Regions from separate parts of the Homo sapiens genome. Here regions 2, 3 and 4 are each linked to region 1. Evidence: promoter capture Hi-C in 16 types of primary human blood cells and fetal thymus (Javierre and others, 2016). All regions are on one chromosome and are shown on one strand. Each heading gives the region's core, a stretch centred on a gene start or on the middle of the fragment in contact. The rest is flanking DNA. Distances are from core to core; before and after follow the strand shown. Region 1 holds the start of RNF146 (ring finger protein 146). Region 2 overlaps TRMT11 (tRNA methyltransferase 11). Region 3 has its middle 170 kb from the start of CENPW. Region 4 overlaps TRMT11 (tRNA methyltransferase 11).

Region 1 (2,919 bases), core at 193-2,692:
AAAATGTCCTAAGTCTTCCAAATTCTATAATTATATACTGGATTGAATGCCAATATTATACGTTCACATCCCATTTGAAAAGTACACACACGAGGTGGGGGGGATGTGCCCACTACCTGAAATGCCAATCATACAAAGAACAAAGCGTACCCTATCATCTTTGGGCTTTCTTCTCTCCTCAGTTCTACACTGTTTCGATATTACAAAAATATTAAACAAAATGTTCAAAACTTGAGAAATAAGTGCTCACTAAAATGGCACTTAGAGAAAATAAATTAAAACATATACCAATATGATTAACGAGAAAAGATTCTAGTTGCCAGGATGTGTGTGTAAACTTACAGTCCTGTAGGTTTTACCTGTGGAGAGGACGGTTCCGTCTCCACTCTTAAAACAATTTTACATTCTTTAGAAGCCTTAGCAAAATAAATAGCGACAACAATGGAAGACCCACACTCCTTCAGACGGGATGGAGGGTAGGAAGAGAACTCCCCACCCAACAATCAGAACAAAGCAACAGCCTCAGCTTTTAAGATGCAGAGGGTTTGGAGGCTCAAGGGATATTCTGAGATCTCTTAATTGTTCCGATGCTTCAACAGCCGTCAAAAACAACTAAGAATATGCAGCGCTGGGCTTCACTAGGACAAGGTGCAGGGATTGCTCTCTTCGTTTTAGGCAAGACCGAGACACTGAGCAGGAGAAAAAAAAGGAGGAAGAGCGAGAGAAGAGAAAGCAGCAGCCAGAGACACTCCGGGAAAAGGCAAAAATGCAGACTGTACGCCCTGGCTTCGATCTGACCCAAGGCCCAAACTGTCTGACCCCACACGGGAAAACATGGAGCAGGCTACCGCCGAAAAACCATCGCCGCCCCTACACCTCGAGGCCAGAAGGTCCCCGGGTAAAGGCCTAAAACCACGGCCCAGAGGGGAGGAGAGGGACCCGCCTGCCACCCGAGGCAGCGAAGCGGGCTCAGGCGGAAGAGGCTGCGCAGTAATGGCCGCTGCTCCGCCCCTCGCACCCGGACCGAGACCAGCTCCGGCCGTCACCCAGGGCAGGGGCTGCGGCGCCCTCGGGCAGCGCAGGGGCTGTCACGGTCGTCTTGCCTGCCCCAGCAGCCAAGGCGGGGGTGGCGGAAAGGGCTGAACTGTCCCATCCCGCCTCTGCGCGGACAGCCGGGGCCGCGCCAGCCCAAGGGCGTCCATCTACGTACCGGCCCCTGACCCCGCCGCCGCCCCTCTCAGGCCCCGAGCGCAAGGCCGACCCGGAGTACGTTGCGGCTGGAGGTGACACCGCGAGCTATGCCTCCTCTCCCCGAGTGAGGATCCTAGAGTGGCCGGCGTTCACCCTGCTCCCCCGAGAGGGCCTCGCTCCGACTCCCACCTCTCCGGCCACAGCTGCGGCCACCTCGCAGTCTTTTCTCTCTGGCCTCGGAGCCCGCAGCTGCCGGGAACGCGCGCGGCCGTCACGTGACCACCCGGCGCGTCGCGGAGGAGGGGCCGCGACGCGCCGCGCACCCGCACCCGCACCGGCGAGCTAACTCCGGCGCCTCATCGTTCTGCCCCTGTCTCGCGCCGCTGTCTGCCGGTACTCTCTTGCCTGTGGGGAGCGGCGACTTCGCTGCTTGCATTCTTCTGGCTTCTTTAGAGTGTGCTTGCTTTGTATTAGGGCCCAGAGGCTCTGAAAGAGTGCAGTTCCAACAGAAAGAGATTTGGGGTGGAGGAAGTAAAACGTGTGTAGGACCAGCAGGTGGTGCTGCTCAAAAATCCAGCTTTGCTATCCTGAGGAAGCTCTGGGGCGCCTAGCTGAGTTTCGGCTTAAAGATCCCTTAGCAAAAGTACTGCTTGTTCCCTTTCAAGAAAAAAAATGGGGAGGGGGGGGACGGAGGGGAGAGAGTACTGTAGGACTTTCCAATTTGTTCTCCTTTTTAATGGTTGAGCAATTTAATCGGGGAAAAAATGAGTATTAGTTTTCTTTTGAAACCCCACCCTTTTTTTAAAAAAAACAGAATAGTGCCTGAGAAACTGAAGAAATTAATCTGCATGATAATCTAAAATTAAAGAGGTTATTTTGATCGCAAGCCTGTGGTTTTAAACATCAGAACTCTAGCAGTAATTCACCATTTTAGCATGTACATTTCCTTTTTCAGAACTGATTAAATTTTCCTAATTTGTAGGAAAATGAAGAGGGTGGAAGAGCAGACCTTTTATCTTTAGAAGAGTATGTATTTCAACATTCTATGACAGCGTCTTCTCATTTGCATTAGTGTTGCATTTTGGGATTTCATTAACTGTTTGATTCAGGATTGGAAGTTTTCAGTGTCCTTATAGGTATAGAAATGTATATGTTTTCTGTTATTCCTCTGAAATCAGTTTATTTCAGGGTTCTCATTCATATATATCAATATGTAACCCAATCTCTTGAAGGGTGCATCTAGTTCAGTGATGCTTGCGCGTGTATGCAATACTGTTCCATACATGTAGAAATATTGAAGTGTATATCCTTTAACTTTAAGCTTAGTTTTCTATCTTTATCTTCTTATTAGCCACTCAGTTTTGTCCCTCTATCCTACACAGCCCATGAACAGAGAATAGCTAAAATTTGATATGTACTCGAAGATTCCAGCTTGAAGAGGTAATGCTAATATTAACTAACAATGTGCCAGGTGTTGCTCTAAGTGCTTTATTCATATATACCCACTTAATTCTCATAATAAACTATGAGGTAGGCACTATTATTATTCCCATTTTACAGAGAGAGAGACACACACAGCTGAGATTTGAATCCAGGCACAGACTGTAAGATGTCAGCTAGTTCAACCCCTTCTCACTCATACCCAAGGTCTTTGTATTTCAGTAAATGGTTGCATCTTTCCTTGTTCAAACCCACCTTTAACTCCTCTCTTTTATGTCTTATATGCAT
Region 2 (2,727 bases), core at 217-2,716, 1.3 Mb after region 1:
CTGGGTGAATTCTCATTACTGGAGGAGCTGACTCACTTGACAGAGGGGATGAGAGGGGATCAGATCTACGGCTGCAGAGTTCTGTGCTACCTAAAGCAACTGGCATCCACTTGCACATATTAATTATAAACAAAGAATTTGACATTTATAATTTTATATTTCAATTCCCTTGCCTGCTGCTATAACCTGCCAACAGTTGCAAATTACTAATATCTTGGAAATTAGCCAAAAAGAGTACTAGAAAATGAGTTTATGGTCAAATTCTTTATCATCACCATTTAATATTAGCTACATCTAACATCTTTCACCAAAAAGGCATCTAAAATATCATCAAAATAATAATCAAAAAGTAATAATGATAACCATTACAGTTCACTAAATGTCTACCACGTGTCAGGCAACTTCCTAGAAATATGATATACACATATTGCCTCACTTAATCCTCACAATATATTAGTATTACCATTTTACAAATGATAGACGTGAAACCCAGACAAGTTAAGAATCTTGCCCAAAGTCACATACTAATTGGTAAAAAGATTTAAACTTTGCTCTATTTATTCTTTTCTTTATATCATACTACCTCCTTTGGGATTAGCACCAATTGAAGTAAATACATATTCACTCACCAATTAGATAAACAAAAGCAAAATATGCTACTAAACAAATTACATTAAATTAAGTAAAGCTACACACTCTGTTAATAAGAGTGTTATATATGCCATTCACAAGTCTTGTACTGTATCACAGACAGGGCTGTGCCATTAATAGGTATTCAATAAATTCATGATGATCATTCCTTTAGCCAAACTCACATGAGAATAGTAGCACTTCCTAACAACTAAGAGATGACACAATGCTATGTCTCTTCCCCTTTGGGAAAGTGGAGACACACACTTTAAAAAAAGAATTTTTACTAAAATGAAAACCAATGTATTTGTTAAAATTGAAAGAAAAGTGTGTTTCTGCCGCTCATAATGTCATTCTAAACAACAGTAGCAAACAGTCTAAAGGAAAAAAGGAAAAGTATTTAGGCATGAAAAGATTATTTTTCTCCTTTCAGTCTCCCAGAAGCTTTCTACCCTACTCTATATCCCTGAGAAAAATCACGAACCATGAGTAGTAAGTGAGCAATACATTTGGGAAACTACATACATTTCAATTTTGTACCTTTAAAATAAAAAGGGGATTAGACACATGAATTTTTTTTAAAAAACTATTTAAAAGGCAACCAAAAGAAAAATATCAACAAATGTTTTGTGAAAACTATGGCCATGGAGAAGGACACAGAGCTACGTATTTCTCCAGTCCTTCAGAAGGTACCACCCATCGATGAGGCAAAAGGCCCAAGAGAGGACAAACTGTGCTTAAGACCTGTGTCTATTCACAATTATTGGTTATTATGTTTCAAAACAAAAGCACCAAAAATTGACTGATGTCCTAAAGCTATACTTAAACTACAAACACAAATTACGAAAATATATTTCAGCAGCACCTTTGCAAAGATCCTCCTCTCATTTTCTATTAATTGTACTATATGAACAGTCAGACGTTCCAAATATACTACCCACTGTGAGGAGCTGCCCTAAAGCAAACAGAAGCAGGTCTCCTTGCCCCTCAACACACTATAAATGGTCCATATATTGACAGCTGTGAAGATAATTTCAAAATCTAGCCTCATCTACTCAACAAAAAAATATTACCCATACTGGCAACCATATTTTTTAACTCTGTGGTCTAGTCTATGTGTATGTATATATATTAATCATTTTCTACATGTATATATCTAAAAGAATTATTCTCAATTGACAAAAAAAGTTTTTAAAGTCCAAGAACAAGATTAAGAATAAAAGCTTTAGCATTTGGAAAAAGGTAAATTAAATCCATTCTTCACATCATACTGGAGAATAATCTCCAAATGAACCAGAGATCTAAAAAGAAAAAATGTAAAACTACAAAAGCACTAGAAGAAAACACAAATGAATTCCTCTATAACTTGAGTGTGGGGAAAACTTTTGCATGGCAAAAATCAATTAGTAGCAAAGTCAAAAGATAAATGACAAGCTAAGGGAAAATACTGCAGCATACATCACAGAAAAATAAGGGGAGTGTGAGGAGGTTGTATCTCAAGCTTACAAAGGACCTTGAAAAATCAGGGAAAGAGACCAAAAATGCTATCAAAAAATGGGCAAAAGACAAAAAAAGACAAATCAAAGAAAGTCATAATGGCCCTTAAAATATAAAAAATTGTGATACTTCATTCGTAACCATAGACATACAAATTAACACTACATTGAGATATCATTTTTCACCCAACAGAACAAGCAAAACTTCAAAAGCCTGAAATATACTCTGCTGGTGAGACTGTGGAAAAACAGGGACTCTCCTACAACTGTTGGTAGGAATCCAAAATAGTATAATGGAGACAAATTTGGCAGTATCTAATGAAACTGCATATGCATACACTCTTCAACCCAGAAATCCTACTTGTAAGAATTTACCCTAGGACAGAGGGGTCCAATCTTTTGGCTTTCCTGGGCCACATTCGAAGAAGAATTGTCTTGGGCTGTACATAAAATACACTAACACTAATGATAGCTGGTGAGCTAAAAAAAATTGCAAAAATTCTCATAACGTTTTAAGAAACTTTACAAGTTTGTATCAGGCCACATTCAAAGCCATCTGGGCCACATGTGGTCCATGGGCTGCGGGTTGGATAAGCTTGCC
Region 3 (2,860 bases), core at 149-2,648, 1.1 Mb after region 1:
ATAGAGTCATGTATAATGGCTGGGTTGAATGGACCTTTTTTTCTTTAATAAATTGATTGGATTTTAGGGTGAAGTGTGCTGACTATATTAAATTGCACTATATTTTAACTTCTCTATGTCAAAAGAAAAAGACACTTAACCAGGGGCTAGCAGTTGTTTACAGGGCTGGCCAGCTCAGGATTGCTTTCACTGTGGCCTTTGCCTTTCCTGCTAAGAGCTTAATCCAAACTTCATCATTTTGACTTCCTTAAAGTCTTGTACCAATTTCTTTTTCACTAGAGCAAAGGTGTTAATTCCTGCTTCCTGAACAAATTGGCGTTTCAGTGATTACACATCACCCAGCAAAACTTGCTTAATGATGTTATTTCCTAACCAAAACTGAAAACTTTTTTAAATGTTTCCTCAATTAATCTCTGAGAAAGGGGATAAGGGGTGGAGAGAGGGAAAGGAGACCCAGGGTGTCTTTCTGATGAGCAGCAGTAAGTAAAATTCTCAGTGTTATCTATAGTTAAATCATTTTCAGGGCATTTTGTACCAAAACATCATTTCAGGAGAAATTTATGAAAATCATTGCTTTAAGTCATTAAGGCTAACTTTAGTTCTAACAATCCCAGAATAAAATATCCAACAAGGATGTCTGCAGAGTACTAAACTGAATAAAGATATATGAGTTGATGATATTCATGCTTTCTAATAGTAACTAAGTAAAATGCCTTTTCTGTATGTTCATTCCTCAGGTTTGTGAAAGGATGAAAGGAACTGGAAAAGAAGTCAGCCGGGAAGCTAGGTATCAGAGCAAACATAATGAAATAGACTTTTGTTGCCTTTAGTGTTTGAATAATGCTTATCCAAAGTTTTCAAGTTGATTTAGATAACCTAGCAATCAGCTAAATCAGATATTTGAGGGCAGTTTTTAGCTTTTTCTTTTTCAAACCCAACCACAAAATAAACTAACTCTTGCTACAAAAACAGTCAGCCTCTCTGGTATTTTGGCTCCACAACTCACATCTCAATGAAGCCAAACCCCTAGGAATGAAAAAATATCTACAAATGCACACAAAACTTACTAAACCTATGTCAGAAAAGGGCCAAGTGTGTCAGGTTGGAGAGGACCCTGTACACTCTAATCTCAAAGTAGATCAAGCTATAGCAGGTTTAATTCTTCTATACCTTGATCTATTGCTAAGCCCCTCCAACTATTATTGACAAGAATACCTGGGTTCAATCACTGTCCCAGTACCAGGGGTTTGAAACAGTAGAGTGGACAGACACAGGAAAAGTAGTCAATGATACAAAACATTCCAATATGTGTATCATACTGGCTGAAGGTAATATGTTAACATCATAGTTGGATAGTTTGAAGCCAACTTAGGAAAGCTGCAGCAACTTTGCACATACAATATGCTCCTTTTGATACAACATTCTGTAAGAAATCATTTTCTGAGCTTTGGTTGTTATCATCAAGAATGGATGTGGTTGGGACTCACCAGGGTGCTCCATTTCTGTCATTTTCTCTTTTTGCGACTCACTCTTCTGCTTCTCAATCTGCTCTTGCTCTCTCACTGTCTTTTCCTCTGAAAATTCAAAGGCACAATTATAGCATGAAGTTGCAAAGGTTTTTTACCTTTCACCTGCAAGGAACTAACAGGCAAGGACATTCAGGGTGGGGATGTAGACCAAAGAGAAAAATTCCTTTAACTAGATATAACCTTAATTGAAGAATTTTGACTTGTCCACAAGAGATCTGTGATAATGGAATCAAATACTGTTCCTATTTTACAAAACAGAAAGCATTTATATTAACTGCCAGGGAATAAACACCTCTGTTTGTTTTTTGTGTAAAGTGCTAAGTGCCATATAGGCAAGCGTGGTTAGGAACAGTGTGGCTTTAAGGTCCTGAGGCTGAGAGAAGCATCAACATTTTCCTCATTATTTGGGTAGAATGCCATAAGGAAATTTCCATATTTTGGTAAATTGAAGGGCATGGTAGCCCAGCAGATGTCAAGAAGTACAGATACGAAATTCATACCCTGAAATGTCTGGCAGCTTTTTGTGGGCTTCCTGACATTTAACCAGCAAAGACTGTAGATGTGTCTGAAATAAGACTGTTCCTTTGCTTTCTGTGACTTAGACTTTTCTGGGTTTGGAGTCTTCTGGGTTTAGAGTTTGTAAAATAAAGATCAGAATGCTTGCAGCTACACCTTCACCAACACTCCACCAATGCCATTCCTGAGGATAGCCTATGAGGAGTGGGCGACAGTGGGGAGTGAGAGGCTGCAGAAAGGTGAGGAAGGAACATGTGTTGCCAAGGCCAGTGCTCCAAATAAAAACATCAGGTTCTGGGATGGAACTTGAGATTCTGCATGTCCAGCAAGCTCCTAGGAACACACTTTGAGCAGCCAGGACCTTGGATCAGTGCTTCTCACACTATCTGTTGAGAAGGAATAGCTCCCCCACCCACATGATCCCAGGCAGGACTCTGCTCTTCTGTTCCCCAGACATTCTCCTGGGGCAGAGAAAGAGGCCACAGTGACATGACACACTAATCACTTCTGCAGCACACCAGGAACCAGATGCACCATCAAAAATTCTGCTGGTTTCCAGGTTGGGCATATGAGGAAAAAGACAAAAAGAATTCTTCACTTCACTGCTTGAGGCCACACAGTCTCTGTAACACACTGAAGGATGCTAAGTTCCTTTGGTTTTCCTGCAAACAACCGCTAACACCAGTCTTGTATTTAGAGTAGGATTTAAAATCCATCCACAGCCCATACTTTTTAAGGAAGCAAATCATGGGGTTGGCTTCCCATATGCTTCTCATCTCTGGGGTCTGCTTACCAGTTGACTTCTCATAGCATGC
Region 4 (2,882 bases), core at 163-2,662, 1.2 Mb after region 1:
CAAAGATTCTTGCAAGTGTTTAGTTTTCTAAATAACTTTAAAATGGAACAGAACCATAGCCCAGCAAAAAGAGCCAAGGTTCTTATTTTGGAATAATTTATTCTCTTTTGGTCAAGCAGGTCAACAATAAGGTCATCAATTGCCTTGGCAACACTCACCTCCATTTCCACCACTGCAATGCATTAATGAGTTTATTTATGCCTTGCTTTATCTACAAAGAATTTTTTTCCTGTTAGAACTATTAACATGAGCCTAGTTCCACTGTGCTTTTTCAAGGGAGATTTATTACAATGGGATGGAAAATAAGATCATTTCCCAAAAAAGTCACCTTCAGTTTTCAACAGAGAAACATTATGTTTTATTCCATATCTCTTTGGATAAGCAATATTTGATAATATTTCCAGCATAAGATGTCAGCAGTTCTTCTAACACCAAACGACTAAGAACTTTTATTCAAGAGCCAGAGTTGCTTATATTGGCATCTATATAACACAACCTCAACGTCTAATTTCCTGGTGTTGAAAAAAAGTCAAATCCCTGCTTCTTTAATTTACGAGTATAAAACATATTACCTTAAAAGCTATTTCCATGTCTCAAACTTTTAAAGCACAATTTTAACCCAATAAAATAAACACACCCACTACAATGCCTCCCGTGATGTTAACACATACTCTACTTTCCCCTACAAAACTTGAAATAAGGTTGTTGTTGTTGTTTTTTGTTTTGTTTTTACTTATAATTGCCATCCTTCTTAAATATGTAGGGAATCTCAATATTTGAGTGAGTTTTCTCAACAAGGAAATAGTGGCAATACTGACTTACCTCCCAGAGCTTAAACAGTTTGAAAATGTTTTATTGCTCAATCCTTGTATTTAAAGAGTTAGTCATAAGGAAATCAGTGGCAAGCTGGCCCAAAGCTGGGTCACCCTGGGCAGGAAGTGGCTGAGAAAATTGTAGCAGATTTTAAACTTTTCAAAATCTGCTGGCCACTTTGGCTAAACACAAAGACCACCTACTCCACTATTTCCTCCCAGCTATTAGAGCAAAAAGTACTCACCAGAATAGACGGGAAGGAGGCACCTCTGATGAACACCACCAAGGTAACCGTCTGGAGTTTATGGATATTTAATATATGCCAGAAACAAAATTATACATTTTGTCATATTATAAACATTAAAATAGGCCAGTCCACAGACCACCTAGAATTCCTTCACAGATTATACTGTAAATCCAAACTACAGGACTTTCTGAAATGCAGGCAATTTGCTAGGTGATATTGTTGCTGTAAGCACATGAGGAATACAGTGGTAACATAGAAAACCAGAGCAATCCTGGAAAGGATCTGCTGTAACTTACGCCGAAAGTAATAAGATCCTAACGCCAAAAAATAAAACTCTCTCGTTAAAATAAGAGGGCTTGAGACCTATGCTCTAAAACCAAAATAGTTTGGAAGTAATCAGGTTTCTTTTTTATTTATAAGTACCAACTAAACAAATTATACTCTGAGCCTAGTGACATTTCAGGAATGGGAAACTGAACTTCCTGATTAATACAAAAATAAGCCTCATAATAGGAATCATAGTTTAGAAGACCTCAATTAGTAGTAATAACAAATAATTTCAAATATTTTTTAAGTGTTGGATAATTTTTAAGGATAATGTGACTAAAATTAATATTCCAACTTTCCAGAACTATTTGGACTAATCTTTGTGACCACCCAAAAAAGGGGCTAAGCTAAAATCTCATATTCCAAATTGAGTCAGTGACAAAGTTTCAAACTCACCTCCCATATAACCTCGAAACATTTTAAATAAGATGGTTTAAACAGAAAAACTGAAAATAAATCATCCTTGAATACTTTTAGATTTCCCCCCAGTGTACCACAAATCACATCCAGAAACCCAAACAAAATAATCAGTGAAATGTTTGAGATCTGCTGCTGAAATCCTGAACTGCAAGACAAGAAAAAGAGAGCAAAGCAGATAGCCTGATGTCTCTTTGCTTGGGCAGCACTATACTTTTAGAGGTCCTAAGCTGTGCACATTAATACTCTGAGTCCATAAAAGTCAGCAGTAACACTAAAATAATAATAATAATAAATACAGGCTCTGGTTAGAGAGAGAGGATCCATTTACTGCCACCCTGCTGAGGTACATTTGACCACCAAAGGCAAGAAAGCTATTAGCATCCTGAATTAATGGGTATAGTGGTTTTCAAGCAAGATATTTTCATGATGGACACAATGTGGACTCAGCAAAGTTTCTCCTTCAAGAAAAATATAGCTTCTATTTCAAAGGGCACTGATTAGGCTTAATACCATTAAGGAACCATCAAGCATTTGTGTTGCTGTTACTGCTTTTAACTATCCGTTACTTTCTAAACCAAAAATTGTGGGTAGTTAACTTGAGCAACAGTCAACGGTTAGGAATGCAGGAGCAAATCCAAGGTACAAAAGAGCTTCAAATGTAGACAGGCCTTAAGGAGTTTGGAATCTTTCTAGGTTGTCAGGTCTTAGCCTTTCTTATCATCACTATTAGCATTGTTATTCCTTCCTTGTCTGGAATTTCTAAATAAAAATTTATTTCCCTCATCACATCCCCCATGAAGACAACTAGATATGACACAATTTTAGAAATTCTCAATATGGTTTATTAGTGGCAATGTAAATCGATGACAACCAAAAACCAAATAAACATATCTACCAAATGAATAAATTCTTAACTACTATTAATTGCATATAATATATCCAGCAGATGTTTTAAAAGTCAACAATATTAATTCCCTTTGTAGATTAATTGTAAAAAAATAACTGTTTTGAGTCTATCTCCATCAGTACTTGAAAGTACAAATATACATTAAATAAGATTATAAAGACTGTAATA

The links. The method cuts DNA at HindIII sites, captures the fragments that hold promoters and counts their contacts. A CHiCAGO score of 5 or more calls a contact.
Region 2: a fragment that was not itself captured here is called in contact with the fragment with the promoter of RNF146 in region 1 in 2 of 17 cell types (total CD8 T cells and naive CD8 T cells); the score reaches 6.1 in total CD8 T cells.
Region 3: a fragment that was not itself captured here is called in contact with the fragment with the promoter of RNF146 in region 1 in 1 of 17 cell types (M2 macrophages); the score reaches 5.5 in M2 macrophages.
Region 4: a contact is called between a fragment that was not itself captured here and the fragment with the promoter of RNF146 in region 1, in 1 of 17 cell types (M2 macrophages). The highest score is 6.0, in M2 macrophages.

What each region holds. Positions count from the first base shown.
Region 1 is chr6:127,265,387-127,268,305 of GRCh38, reverse strand. It overlaps RNF146 (ring finger protein 146), which reads right to left and starts at 1,442. Exons shown (of 3, transcript NM_001242850.2): 1 at 1,381-1,442. RefSeq lists an enhancer at 754-813 and silencers at 1,014-1,283, 1,384-1,483. The HindIII fragment of the contact is 5,432 bases long and covers 1-2,514 here.
Region 2 is chr6:126,003,165-126,005,891 of GRCh38, reverse strand. The region is part of intron 7 of TRMT11 (tRNA methyltransferase 11); the gene reads right to left. Among named protein-coding and RNA genes, the nearest start is that of TRMT11, 18 kb to the right of the region's middle. The HindIII fragment of the contact is 779 bases long and covers 1,077-1,855 here.
Region 3 is chr6:126,173,539-126,176,398 of GRCh38, reverse strand. It overlaps a transcript of TRMT11 not described here. Among named protein-coding and RNA genes, the nearest start is that of CENPW, 170 kb to the left of the region's middle. The HindIII fragment of the contact is 4,515 bases long and covers 1-2,860 here.
Region 4 is chr6:126,039,021-126,041,902 of GRCh38, reverse strand. TRMT11 (tRNA methyltransferase 11) reads right to left here. Exons shown (of 13, transcript NM_001031712.3): 13 at 2,627-2,882. Among named protein-coding and RNA genes, the nearest start is that of TRMT11, 54 kb to the right of the region's middle. The HindIII fragment of the contact is 4,354 bases long and covers 1-2,882 here.